Linked DNA regions of Homo sapiens: all the other regions are linked to region 2. The links are contacts of gene promoters, found by promoter capture Hi-C in human tissues and cell types (Jung and others, 2019). All regions are on one chromosome and are shown on one strand. The core of a region is centred on a gene start or on the middle of the fragment in contact, and the rest is flanking DNA. Distances in the headings are between cores, read along the strand shown. Region 1 has its middle 29 kb from the start of ZNF430. Region 2 holds the start of ZNF708 (zinc finger protein 708). Region 3 has its middle 68 kb from the start of ZNF100.

Region 1 (4,175 bases), core at 242-2,741, 340 kb before region 2:
TAAGGGCAGCCAGACAGAAAGGTCAGGTTAAATACAAAGGTAAGCCCATCAGACTAACAGCAGATTTCTCTGTGAAAATCCTACAAGCCAGAAGAGAGTACGGGCCAATATTCAACATTCTTGAAGAAAAGAATTTTCAACCCAGAATTTCATATCCAGCCAAAGTAAGCTTCATAAGCGAATGAGAAAGAAAATCCTTTACAGACAAGCAAATGCTGAGGGATTTCATCACCACCATGCCTGCCTTACAAGAGCTCCTGAAGGAAGCACTAAATATGGAAAGGAAAAACTGGTACCAGCCACTGTAAAAACACACCAAAATATAAAGACCAATGACACTATGAAGAAACTGCATCAACTAACATGAAAAATAACCAGCTAGCATCATGATGACAGGATCAAATTCACACATAACAATATTAACCTTAAATTTAAATGGGCTAAATGCCCCAATTTAAAGACATAGACTGGCTAACTGGATAAAGAGTCAAGACCTATCAGTGTGCTGTATTCAGGAGACCTATCTCACATGCAAAGACACATATAGGCTCAAAATAAAGGTATGCAGGAATATTTACCAAACAAATGAAAAGAAAAAAAAAAGCTGGGGTTGCAATCCTAGTCTCTGATAAAATAGACTTTAAACCAAAAAAGATCAAAAAATAAAAAGAAGGGCATTACATAATGGTAAAGGGATCAATGCAACAAGAAGAATTAACTATCCTAAACATATAAGCACCCAATACACGAGTGCCCAGATTCATAAAACAAGTTCTTAGAGATCTACAAAGAGACTTAGACTCCCACACAATAATAGTGGGAGACTTTAACACCCCTCTGTTAATATTAGACAGATCAAGGAGACAGAAAATTAATAAGGATATTCAGGACTTGAACTCAGCTCTGGACCAAGCAGACCTAATGGACATCTACAGTACTCTCCACACCAAATCAACAGAATATAAATTCTTCTCAGTGCCACACAGCACGTATTCTAAAATTGACCACATAATTGGAAGTAAAACGTTCCTCAGCAAATGCAAAAGAATGAAAATCATACCAAACAGTCTCTCAGACCACAGGACAATCAAATTAGAACTCAGGATTAAGAAACGCATTCAAAACCTCACAACTACATGGAAATTGAACAACCTGCTCCTGAATGACTACTGGGTAAATAACGAAATGAAGGCAGAAGTAAATAAGTTCTTTGAAACCAATGAGAACAAAGACACAGTGTATCAGAATCTCTGGGACCAGAATCTAACACAGCTAAAGCAGTGTTAAGAGGTAAATTTATAGCACTAAATACCCACAACAGAAAGCTGGAAAGATCTAAAATCAACACCCTAAAATCACAATTAAAAGAACTAGAGAAGCAAGAGCAAACAAATTCAAAAGCGAACAGAATACAAGAAATAACTAATACCAGAGCAGAACTGAAGGAGATAGAGACACAAAAAACCTTCAAATAATCAATTAATCTAGGAACTGGTTTTTTGAAAAGATTAACAAAATAGATAGACTACTAGCTAGACTAGTATAGAAGAAAAGAGACAAGAATCAAATAGGCACAATAAAAAATGATAAAGGGGCTATTACCACTGATCCCACAGAAATACAAACTACTATAAGAGAATACTATAAACATCTCTATGCAAATAAACTTGAAAATTTAGAAGAAATGAATAAATTCCTGGACACATACACCCTCCCAAGACTAAACCAGGAAGAAGATGAATCCCTGAATAAACCAATAGCAAGTTCTGAAACTGAGGCAGTAATTAACAGGCTACCAACCAAAAAATGCCCAGGCCCAGATGGATTCACAGCTGAATTCTACCAGAGGTACAAAGAGGAGCTAGTACCATTCCTTCTGAAATGATTTCAAACAATAGCAAAAGAGGGACTCCTCCCTAACTCATTTTATGAGGCTAGCATCATCCTGATACCAAAACCTGGCAGAGACACAATAAAAAAAAAAATTTCAGGCCAATATCCCTGATGAACATCAATGCGAAAATCCTCAATAAAATACTGGCAAACCAAATCCAGCAGCACATCAAAAAGCTTATCCACCATGATCAGGTGGGCTTCATCCCTGAGATGCAAGGCTGGTTCAACATACACAAATCAACCAACATAATCCATCACATAAACAGAACCAATGACAAAAACCACATGATTATCTCAATAGATGGAGAAAGGGCCTTTGATAAACTTCAACATCCCTTCATGCTAAAAACTCTTAAAAAACTAGGTATGGATGGAACACACCTCAAAATAATAAGAGCTATTGATGACAAACCCATAGCCAATATCATACTGAATGAACAATAGCTGGAAGCTTTCCCTTTGAAAACCGGCACAAGACAAGGATGCCCTCTCTCACCACTCCTACTCAACATCATATTGTAAGTTCTGGCCAGGGCAATCAGGCAAGAGAAAGGAATAATGTGTATTCAAATAGGAAGACAGGAAGTCAAATTGTCTCTGTTTGCAAATGACATGATTGTATATTTAGAAAACCCCATCATCTCAGCCCAAAAACTCCTTAAGCTGATAAGCAACTTTAGTAAAGTCTCAGGATACAAAATCAATGTGCAAAAATCACAAGCATAGGCCTGGCATGGTGGCTCGTGCCTGTAATCCCAGCACTTTGGGAGGCTGAGGTGGGCAGATCATGGGGTCAAGAGATCGAGACCATCCTGGCCAACATGGTGAAATGCCGTCTCTACTAAAAATACAAAAATTAGCCAGGCATGATGGTGTGTGCCTGTAATCCCAGCTACTCATGAGGCTGAGGCAGGAGAATCGCTTGAACCCAGGAGGCGGAGGTTGCAGTGAGCCAAGGTTGCACCGCTGGACTCCAGCCTGGGTGACAGAGCAAGACTCCGTCTCAAAAACAAAAAGAAACAAAAAAAACACACAAGCATTCCTAAACAACAACAATAGACAAGCGGAGAGCCAAATCATGACTGAAATCTCATTCACAATTGCTACAAAGAGAATAAAATATCTAGGAAAACAACTTACAAGGCATTTGAAGGACCTCTTCAAGGAGAACTACAGACCACTGCTCAAGGAAATGAGAGGACACAAACAAATGGAAAAACATTACATACTCATGGATAGGAAGAATCAATATCATGAAAATGGCCATATTGACCAAAGTAATTTACAGATTCAATGCTATTCCCATCAAGCTACCAGTGACTTTCTTTGCAGAGTTAGAAAAAACTACTTTAAATTTTGTATAGAACCAAAAAAGAGCCCGTATAGCCAAGACAATCCTCAAGATGAATTGAAGACTTAAATGTAAAACCCCAAATCATAAAAATCCTAAAAGAAAACCTAGGCAATACCATTCAGGACATAGGCATGGGTAAAGACTTCATGACTAAAACACTGAAAGCGATTGCAACAAAAGCTAAAATTGACAAATGGGATCTAATTAAACTAAAGAGCTTCTGCATAGCAAAAGAAATTACCATCGGAGTGAAAAGGCAACCTATAGAATGGGAGAAAAGTTTTGCAAGCTACCCATCTGACAGAGGTCTAATATCCAAAATCTACAAGGAACTTAAACAAATCATTTATGTGGCCAACAAACATATGAAAAAAAGCTCATCAGGCCCAGAGCAGTGGCTCACGCCCGTAATCCCAGCACTTTGGGAGACCAAGGTGGGTAGATCACGAGGTCAGGAGTTCAATACCAGCCTAGTCAAGATGGTGAAACCCTGTCTCTACTAAAAAATATAAAAATTAGCCAGGCACAGTGGCAGGCACCTGTAATCCCAGCTACTTGGGAGGCTGAGGCAGGAGAATTGCTTGAACCCGGGAGGTGGAGTTTGCAGCCAGCTGAGATTGCACCACTGCACTCTAGCCTGGGCGACAGAGAAGGACTCTAACTCAAAAAAAAAGAAAAAAAGAAAAAAAGCTCATCATCACTAGTCATTAGAGAATGCAAATCAAAACCACAATGAGATACCATCTCACACCAGTTAGAATGGAGATCATTAGCAAGTCAGGAAACAACAGATGCTGGAGGGGATGTGGAGAAATAGAAATCCTTTTACACTGTTGGTGGGAGAATAAATTAGTTCAGCCATTGTGGAAGACAGTGTGGCAATTCCTCAAGGATCTAGAACTAGAAATACCATCTGACCCAGCAA
Region 2 (3,918 bases), core at 1,277-3,776:
AGATTGTGCCATTGCACTCCAGCCTGGGCAACAAGAGCAAGAGTCCATATTAAATATAAATATAAATACATATATATTTGATTATATATATATTCACAAAAAATACATCTGAGAAAATTCCTAAACTTACTCTAAGAAAGGAAAACTTAAATGAGAATTTCTCACAAATAAAATACATGATTAATATTAATTTTTTCTGAAATCCACCTCTTTTATGCCCTCTGTTAATATTTTCTTACCTTCCAAGTCCTATTAATAAAATGCAATTTACAGTTAAATAATGGAAGTCAACATAAGTGAACAAATCTTTTCAAGGTGACAAACCCAGGGAGTGGTAGTGCTAATTAGAAAACAGATGTGTCTAGACCGGGCGCGGTGGCTCACGCCTGTATTCCCAGCACTTTGGGAGGCCGAGGCGGGCGGATCACCTGAGGTCTGGAGTTTGAGACCAGCCTGACCAACATGGAGAAACCCCATCTCTACTAAAAATACAAAAACATTAGCTGGGTGTGGTGGCACATGCCTGTAATCCCAGCTACTCGGGTGGCTGAGGCAGGAGAATCGCTTGAACCTGGGAGGCGGAGGTTGCGGTGACCCGAGATCGTGCCATTGCACTCCAGCCTGGGCAACAAGAGTGAAACTCCACCTCAAAAAAAAAAAAAAAGAAAAGAAAGAAAACAGATGTGTCTGACTGATATTCACCCACCCCATTCTGCTCACCTTAAGTGCTCAATAACCACCCTCTCAGGAGACATTACACTATGCCCCAGGTGCATTTTACTTTGTAAGTTCTTGCACCATCTCACTTGGGTCAGGTTTTTCTTTGTCTTTTGGGATACTTTTTTTTTTCCACAAAATTTAGAGAATTCAGGGGGCAGAAATTATTTCTGTGTTTTCCCCTCAATACCAGCATCTGATTGGCTGACCAGCACTGTGTCTCCAAGAAATGGAAGCTGGGTTGGGTGAAGACAATCTTAATGTCTCAAGGGGTTAGCTTTTCAAAGGAAGAGTATGCCAGGAGATGCCTCTCAGCCCCAGGGCATCCACCTGCTCCCTTGAGAAGCTACACTCCATACCTCAGGTTGTCCTCAGGGAGAAAAATGACCCAGGAGCTGATATTCACTAGACACTCTAGCAGAAAAAGTCATGATGTGTATCTTGGTTTACTCCAGACAGTACTGAAACCCAGGACCAGGAAAAAACTGAAGGGTGGCTGAAGACACATCACTCCGTAAAGTTTCCAAAGAAAAACCTTCACCTGAAAACAAACATTCTGATAAGATTTCTGTGCCTGAGGAAGATAAAAAAAAAAAAGCCATAGAAATTTCATAAAATACAGTGTCAGGGAATTATTTTTTGCTTTCTTCTCATGAGAAATATTTTCAACCAGAAAACAATTTTAAGTGCCATCCAATGCTTTGTCAAAAAATGATTAACTAAAATACAGTATCAAAAATGTACACTAAAGGAAAAACAGTTGAGAATGTGAATTAGGAAAGGCAAGCTGGCATTTGGAAATGTCAGAAGGAACTAGAAATTTAGTATTTTAGTTTATTTGCAGTTTAAATCTAACTGCAGGCCAGAGTTAGGCTGGAGGAATGGGGCTGGGAGGTACACTTGAGACCCCGCTTGGAACGCATGTGAAAAATGCAGGGGAAAATCAGTCCCCTGTGGAGTGTGAGAATAATTAAGTGGCAGGCAATTACACTGAGGAGGCTCTAGTCCCCGGCTTTCTACTTAACAGCAACAGCTACGTAAATGTACCTAACCGATTATTAAATATAGTTTTCTTCATCATGCACCTTATAAAAAGTCTTTCCTTCAAGCTCCTCCCATGAACCACAAACTACAAAACATACTTTTGTGCTCTACAATTATTGAATCACTCTTTGATTAAATTCTTTAATATTTTTTGCGATGACTGCCACAGATTTTTAATAGGAGAAAATAGGAACCGGGAACCCCACAGACCAAAGCTCTTCCCATTCATGAACCCGACCCCAAGTCAGGATTCTCCCCTGACCACCCTCCCATGGTCCCTGCACAATCTGGGAGAGGCGCGGCGCTGCCGGTGCAGAGCCGCCCAGAGAGGGCTGCAGGCCAGGGCACAGTCACTGCGCAGGGAAGAGACAGGACGCCCGGGGGCCCGGCTGTCGGCGCAGCCGCCATCTTATGGCTGAAGGGGACTGAGGCCGAGCTAGGCAAGGAGAACTCGGAGCGCAGATTGTGGAGATGACTGCGGGGAGTCCTGAGTCCCGCCACAGCCACTTCCCACAGGTTTCAACCAGCCCTTCCCCTCTCTCGGGATGTCGGACGGCACTCTCACCATTTCTAGGCTTCCAGAGGGTCCTGGAGTCTTAGCTGTGGATCTCCCAATACCTGCAGGTCACAGAGCCACAGAGTCTGGGCCTCTAGGAGCAGAGGACAAACAGCAGTGAAGACGAGACCGGAGCTCCGGCTGCAGCAAGAGACAAAGGCCGCGCCAAACCCGGAAGCCGCCCTGTCCGGTCCAGCTGCGTGTCTGAGTGAACTGTCCCCAGCTCAGAGTCCCTGATTGGATAATGTTAAAACCCGCCCCTTCAGGCCCTGAGGGACGGAAGATGTGATCAGATGCTGGGCTGAATGAAGTGTGACAGCCTATGCTGCAGCCTTTTCAGGCAAGGCTTCCTCCCTGAGCTGAGCCAGGCCCACCCGAGAGGGTGTTTGCCTTTAATCTTGTGTATAAGGTCATATGCCCTTATAAATAATATGCTATATGGCTATTCACAAATGAAAAGAATATAATAACCCAATTGTTCTAAAAAAAATTTTTTTTTTGAGATTGAGTTTCACTCTTGTTGCCCAGGCTGGAGTGCAATGGCGCGATCTTGGCTCATCGCAACCTCCACCTCGCGGGTTCAAGCGATTCTCCTGCCTCAGCCTCCCGCGTAGCTGAGATTACAGGCATGCGCCACCATGCCCGGCTAATTTTTTTGTATTTTTAGTAGAGACGGGGTTTCTCCATGTTGGTCAGGCTGGTCTCAAACTCCAGACCTCAGGTGATCCTCCCGCCTCGGCCTCCCAAAATGCTGGGATTACAGGCATGAGCCACTGCGCCCGGCCCAACTGTTCTAAAATTTTATATTTTGTGACCTTCCTGACTTCTGGTCCTTTGAGCAGGCAGCCTGAGATTTTAAAAAGGAGGCAATTCTCTGAAATAAAATGTGAGCCACAAGTTGGGCGCTGTACCTCACGCCTGTAATCCCAGTACTTCGGGAGGCCGAAGAGGGTGGATCATCTGAGGTTCAGAGTTCGAGATCAGTCTGGCCAACATGGTGAAACCCCGTCTCTAAAACAATACAAAAAAATTAGCTGGGCATGGTGGCAGGCGCCTGTAATCCCAGCTACTTGGGAGGCTGGGGCAGGAGAATCGCTTGATCCTGGGCGGTGGAGGTTGCAGTGAGACGAGATCACGCCACTGCACTCCAGTATGGACAACAAGAGTGAAACTCTGTCTCAAAAAAAATAAATAAATAAAATAAAATCATAAAATGTGAGCCACATGTAAATTTTAAATTTTCTAGTAGCCAAACTTTATTTTATATTTTTATTTTTTTAGACGGAGTCTCACATTGTTGCCTGGGCTGGAGTGCAATGGCGCGATTTCTGCTCACTGCAACCTCTGCCTCCCGGGTTCAAGCGATTCTCCTGCCTCAGCCTCCCAAGTAGCTGAGATAAAAGGCGCTGGCCACCATGCCCGGCTAATTTGTAGCCAAACTTTAAAAAGAGTTTAGCTCTATTTTTAAAAAGAAACAAAGAACAGGTGAAATTGATTGTAACAATTTAACCCAATATATCGAAAATATTGTCATTTTAATATGTGAGAAATATGTAATTATTAATGAAGTGTGTCTATATATATGGAACTAAACCTTTGAA
Region 3 (3,788 bases), core at 1,023-3,522, 370 kb after region 2:
TTACAGAAGTAGAACAGGCAGAAAGTTAAAAAAATTAATTGGTTACAGAAGCAGTTACAGAAAAATAAACAGTTCCAGGTGCAGGGGTTTAAACTATCACAAAGAGGTAAATGCAGGGGTTTTAGGTGCGTCCCCAGGAGCTGCTGGTTCAGCTTGCCTCAATATCTTATCAGTAAGTGCATTCCTGGACGTGCTTGGAGTCAGCTTGCACTAGTTATGCCCTTAAGGGAGGGAGGTAAAGGGGCTGTAAGTGAAGGAAATAAAATGGAGTCTGTCCGGCTCTCTCAGCTAAGAGAGATAATCAGGTTAAAACAAGGTAGGGTATCAAGAGATCATGCCATTGTACTTCAGCCTGGGGGACAAGAGCAAGACTTTGTCTCAAAAAAAAAAAAAATTGGTAATATGGTGCACTGTAAGCTACAGAAAGACAGTTATAAAGAAAGATTTTATATAAGGAAGAATCTTGTATGTTAAATTCTTGTTCTAAAAGGAGATGACTGGTTGTTTAAAGAATGGATGTTTAGGACAAGTCAGAAAGTTTGTTATAAGATGGTCTGTGGAAATAAAGAGTTGAATAATTAAAGGAAAGGCATTGCCAAGATTAACACTAAAGTTACTTTAGCCACCGGATGATGTATTTCTCCCAATCATATTGAAAGTTATAAAAATGGCCTAAACCTAAAAGTATTCCCTAATGGCAAGTCAAGGGGAAAATGTATGTTTTTCTCAAAGAAAATGTTACTTTTATATTAACGTTTCTGGTAATGTACAGCAACATCTAGTGGAGGCAAACCAGTATTACAATCCATTGGGACAACTAACAGGTGTAGAACTCTGCTATTATACCATAAGGTTGTATTACCCCACTAGCAGCGGTCATCTTAATATGAATATTCTAATCCTGTCTTCAAAACCTTCTGGTAAAAATTATCTCTTTTTTGCCTAGGTGCTGCAAACAGAGCCACACGAGGACACACCATTCTTTTTTTTTATTGTTTGTTTGTTTGATTTAAGACGAAGTCTCGCTCTGTCACCCAAGCTGGAGTGCAGTGGTGAGATATCGGCTCACTGCAACCTCCGCCTCCCAGGTTGAAGCAATTCTCCTGCCTCAGCCTCCCTAGTAGATGGGATTACAGGCACGCAACACCAAGTCTGGATAATTTTTGTGTTTTTATTAGAGATGCGGTTTCACCATGTTGGCCAGGCTGGTCTTGAATTCCTGACCTCAGGTGATTCACCTGCCTCGGCCTCCCAAAGTGCTGGGATTACAGGCATAAGCCACTGCACCTGGCCTGGACACACCATTTTTTTTCAAGAACTCTTAGATCAACCTCAGGAGGAGCCCTAACTGCTGTTCCCCAACATGATGGCCCTTTTCAGCAGGAAGTATCTTGAAAGATTCGTCATCTGACACCCCCTAACAGCAGTTAGGAATACGTCTCCTGAGGGGAGAATAATATAGGAGTTATTAAGAAATTATTTTAGGCATTTAGAGAGGGTAAAAGAGTTCTCTCACTAGAATTTTTCTTTAATAAAAAGCAGCCCCAAAGCCAATTCTTTTCTAACAGAAAACAGCCTGAAAAGTCAAGCTGCAAGCTGATAAGCAGGCTGGAGACTTTCATTTGTAAATGCAGGCGGCTGTATTAAAAGGCAAGTACATTTCAACAGAGGTGAATTCCTCCTCTTTTTTCTTTGACACCACTTGTGTGGGTGTCATGGCACCAGCCAGGTAAAGCCACGTGAGCAGGTATCATGGTGACAGGTAGAAGCTACATTTGCATAATAAAAGACTAGGGTGGGAGGGCCAGCCTTTGCATGGGTTATGTAAATGGCACACCTGGTCAACCAATCTCCTGTGCCCTATGTAAATCAATCACTGACTCCTCAAGCTTCTCTACAAAATCAATTGTGTTCTACCCGCAACCAGGAAATTTTTTAGGTGACCCTGTTTCTCAGCATGAGGAGCTTTCTCTCTCTCTGTTATTTTTGCCTATTAAACTTTCTTTTTTTTTTTTTTTTTTTTTTTTTGAGACGGAGTCTCACTCTGTCGCCCAGGCTGGAGTGCAGTGGCGCCATCTCGGCCCACTGCCAGCTCTGCCTCCCGGGTTCACGCCATTCTCCTGCCTCAGCCTCCCGAGTAGCTGGGACTACAGACGCCCGTCACCACGCCCGGCTAATTTTTTGTATTTTTAGTAGAGACGGGGTTTCACCGTGTTAGCCAGGATAGTCTCGATCTCCTGACCTCGTGATCCACCTGCCTCGGCCTCCCAAAGTGCTGGGATTACAGGCGTGTTGTCTATTAAACTTTCCACCCCAAAATCAATCCTCGTGTGTGTTCGTGTTCTAAATTTTCCTCGTGTGAGACAACAAACCCCAGGTATTTACCCCAGACAATGCAGCCATTTCAGAGTCTGGGAAATGAATCTTAGTCACAGAAAAAAAGAACAGCAATGAACATGGCAAGGTGCTTATGATTCTGGTCCACTGGATCTTCCTATCCCTAGGAAAGTAAATACCATCACAGTCAGCACCCAGCAAGTTACCACCATATAATTTCTTGTTTGTTCCAAAATAAATACAGGTGATTCTTATCACAAAGGCAAATAAAAAGTAGTTTACTTTTTAAACTGAACTGTATCAGTTTAGTTTACTCTTAAGTTCTTATAATTTTGAAAATGCAGTTGACACTTGTATGGCTTATGAAATTTTTGATAGTCTAACATTACTTGAATTGTTCAAAGAACAGTATATTTTAAATTAAGAAGAGTAAACTGTATGTGTTTGTTTCCTATATTTAAGGTTTAGAATCACAAATTACACTCCTGTTTATGATTTGAAAACTTCAAAGTTTGGTTTTTCCATCTGTACATACACAGAACAGTGTTATCGTGCTGAAACATTTGTATCTTAAGATGGCAGTCACAGTTTCCATCTGTCTGGATATATTTTGGACTTTTGCATGTTAAACATAAGAAAGAGACTTTTTGTTTTAGGTAATCTAAGACTGTTGTACACAAACTACAGATTACTGTAGGGTTCAGCAAACTATGTTTATAATGTGACATTAATATCTATTTTGATGTCTAAATCAAAACTTTTTTTAGAAATAATTTTTTTTTTACAAATATCTCCACAAATTCAGGTTTATTTTATAAAATGGCAGGATAGTAAAGAAATAGGTGGTTTGCCATAGTATATGAATACATGCACTTAATTAAAATACCAAATATTATAATCAAAATTTAGATAGCAGATTTAAATAATTTCTTGATTTTTCACTACAGGATAGAAATTCACAAATATTTTATAAATCAAAGCTATTAGTATTAGGTTTTACTTAGTAGTAATATATATATATATTCTGGGTATTTAAAAAATATATATATATTCTGGGTATTTGAAAACACCAAATTATTGATGAAAATGTCCATTTTGAACAAATTATTGATCATATATATCATACATCATACATACATATCATATATGCAATCATACATTATCATATATGTATGATGTATAATATATGATCAAGAATTTGTTCAAAATGGGTATTTTTCATCAATAATTTGGTGTTTTCAAATACCCAGAAGTCTTGTTTTAATCAGATTAACTCTAAGAATAGTTTACTAATTTTATTTTTTATGGTGTGTTCAAAATTTGATAGTTTAATATGGATTGATGATGGGTAAACTAATCAATTTCTTTTCAAATCTCATAGGCCTATTACATTGTCAAGGATGTTATTAATAAAAATTCTTTCTTTTAATATTGTTTACAGGGATTTAGGT

What was found. Contacts are between HindIII fragments. The study calls those that stand out against the background at their distance.
Region 1: a contact is called between a fragment that was not itself captured here and the fragment with the promoter of ZNF708 in region 2, in 1 of the 25 tissues and cell types used here (H1 embryonic stem cells).
Region 3: a fragment that was not itself captured here is called in contact with the fragment with the promoter of ZNF708 in region 2 in 1 of the 25 tissues and cell types used here (H1 embryonic stem cells).

Annotation. Positions count from the first base shown.
Region 1 is chr19:20,989,919-20,994,093 of GRCh38, forward strand. No RefSeq gene overlaps it. Among named protein-coding and RNA genes, the nearest start is that of ZNF430, 29 kb to the right of the region's middle. The HindIII fragment of the contact is 4,218 bases long and covers 1-3,600 here.
Region 2 is chr19:21,326,884-21,330,801 of GRCh38, forward strand. ZNF708 (zinc finger protein 708) reads right to left here and starts at 2,527. Exons shown (of 4, transcript NM_021269.3): 1 at 2,327-2,527. The coding sequence starts at 2,329. RefSeq lists enhancers at 470-991, 2,080-2,279, 2,320-2,499, 2,384-3,372 and a silencer at 2,619-2,840. The HindIII fragment of the contact is 12,621 bases long and covers 1-3,918 here.
Region 3 is chr19:21,697,630-21,701,417 of GRCh38, forward strand. No RefSeq gene overlaps it. Among named protein-coding and RNA genes, the nearest start is that of ZNF100, 68 kb to the right of the region's middle. RefSeq lists an enhancer at 1,198-1,698. The HindIII fragment of the contact is 4,382 bases long and covers 82-3,788 here.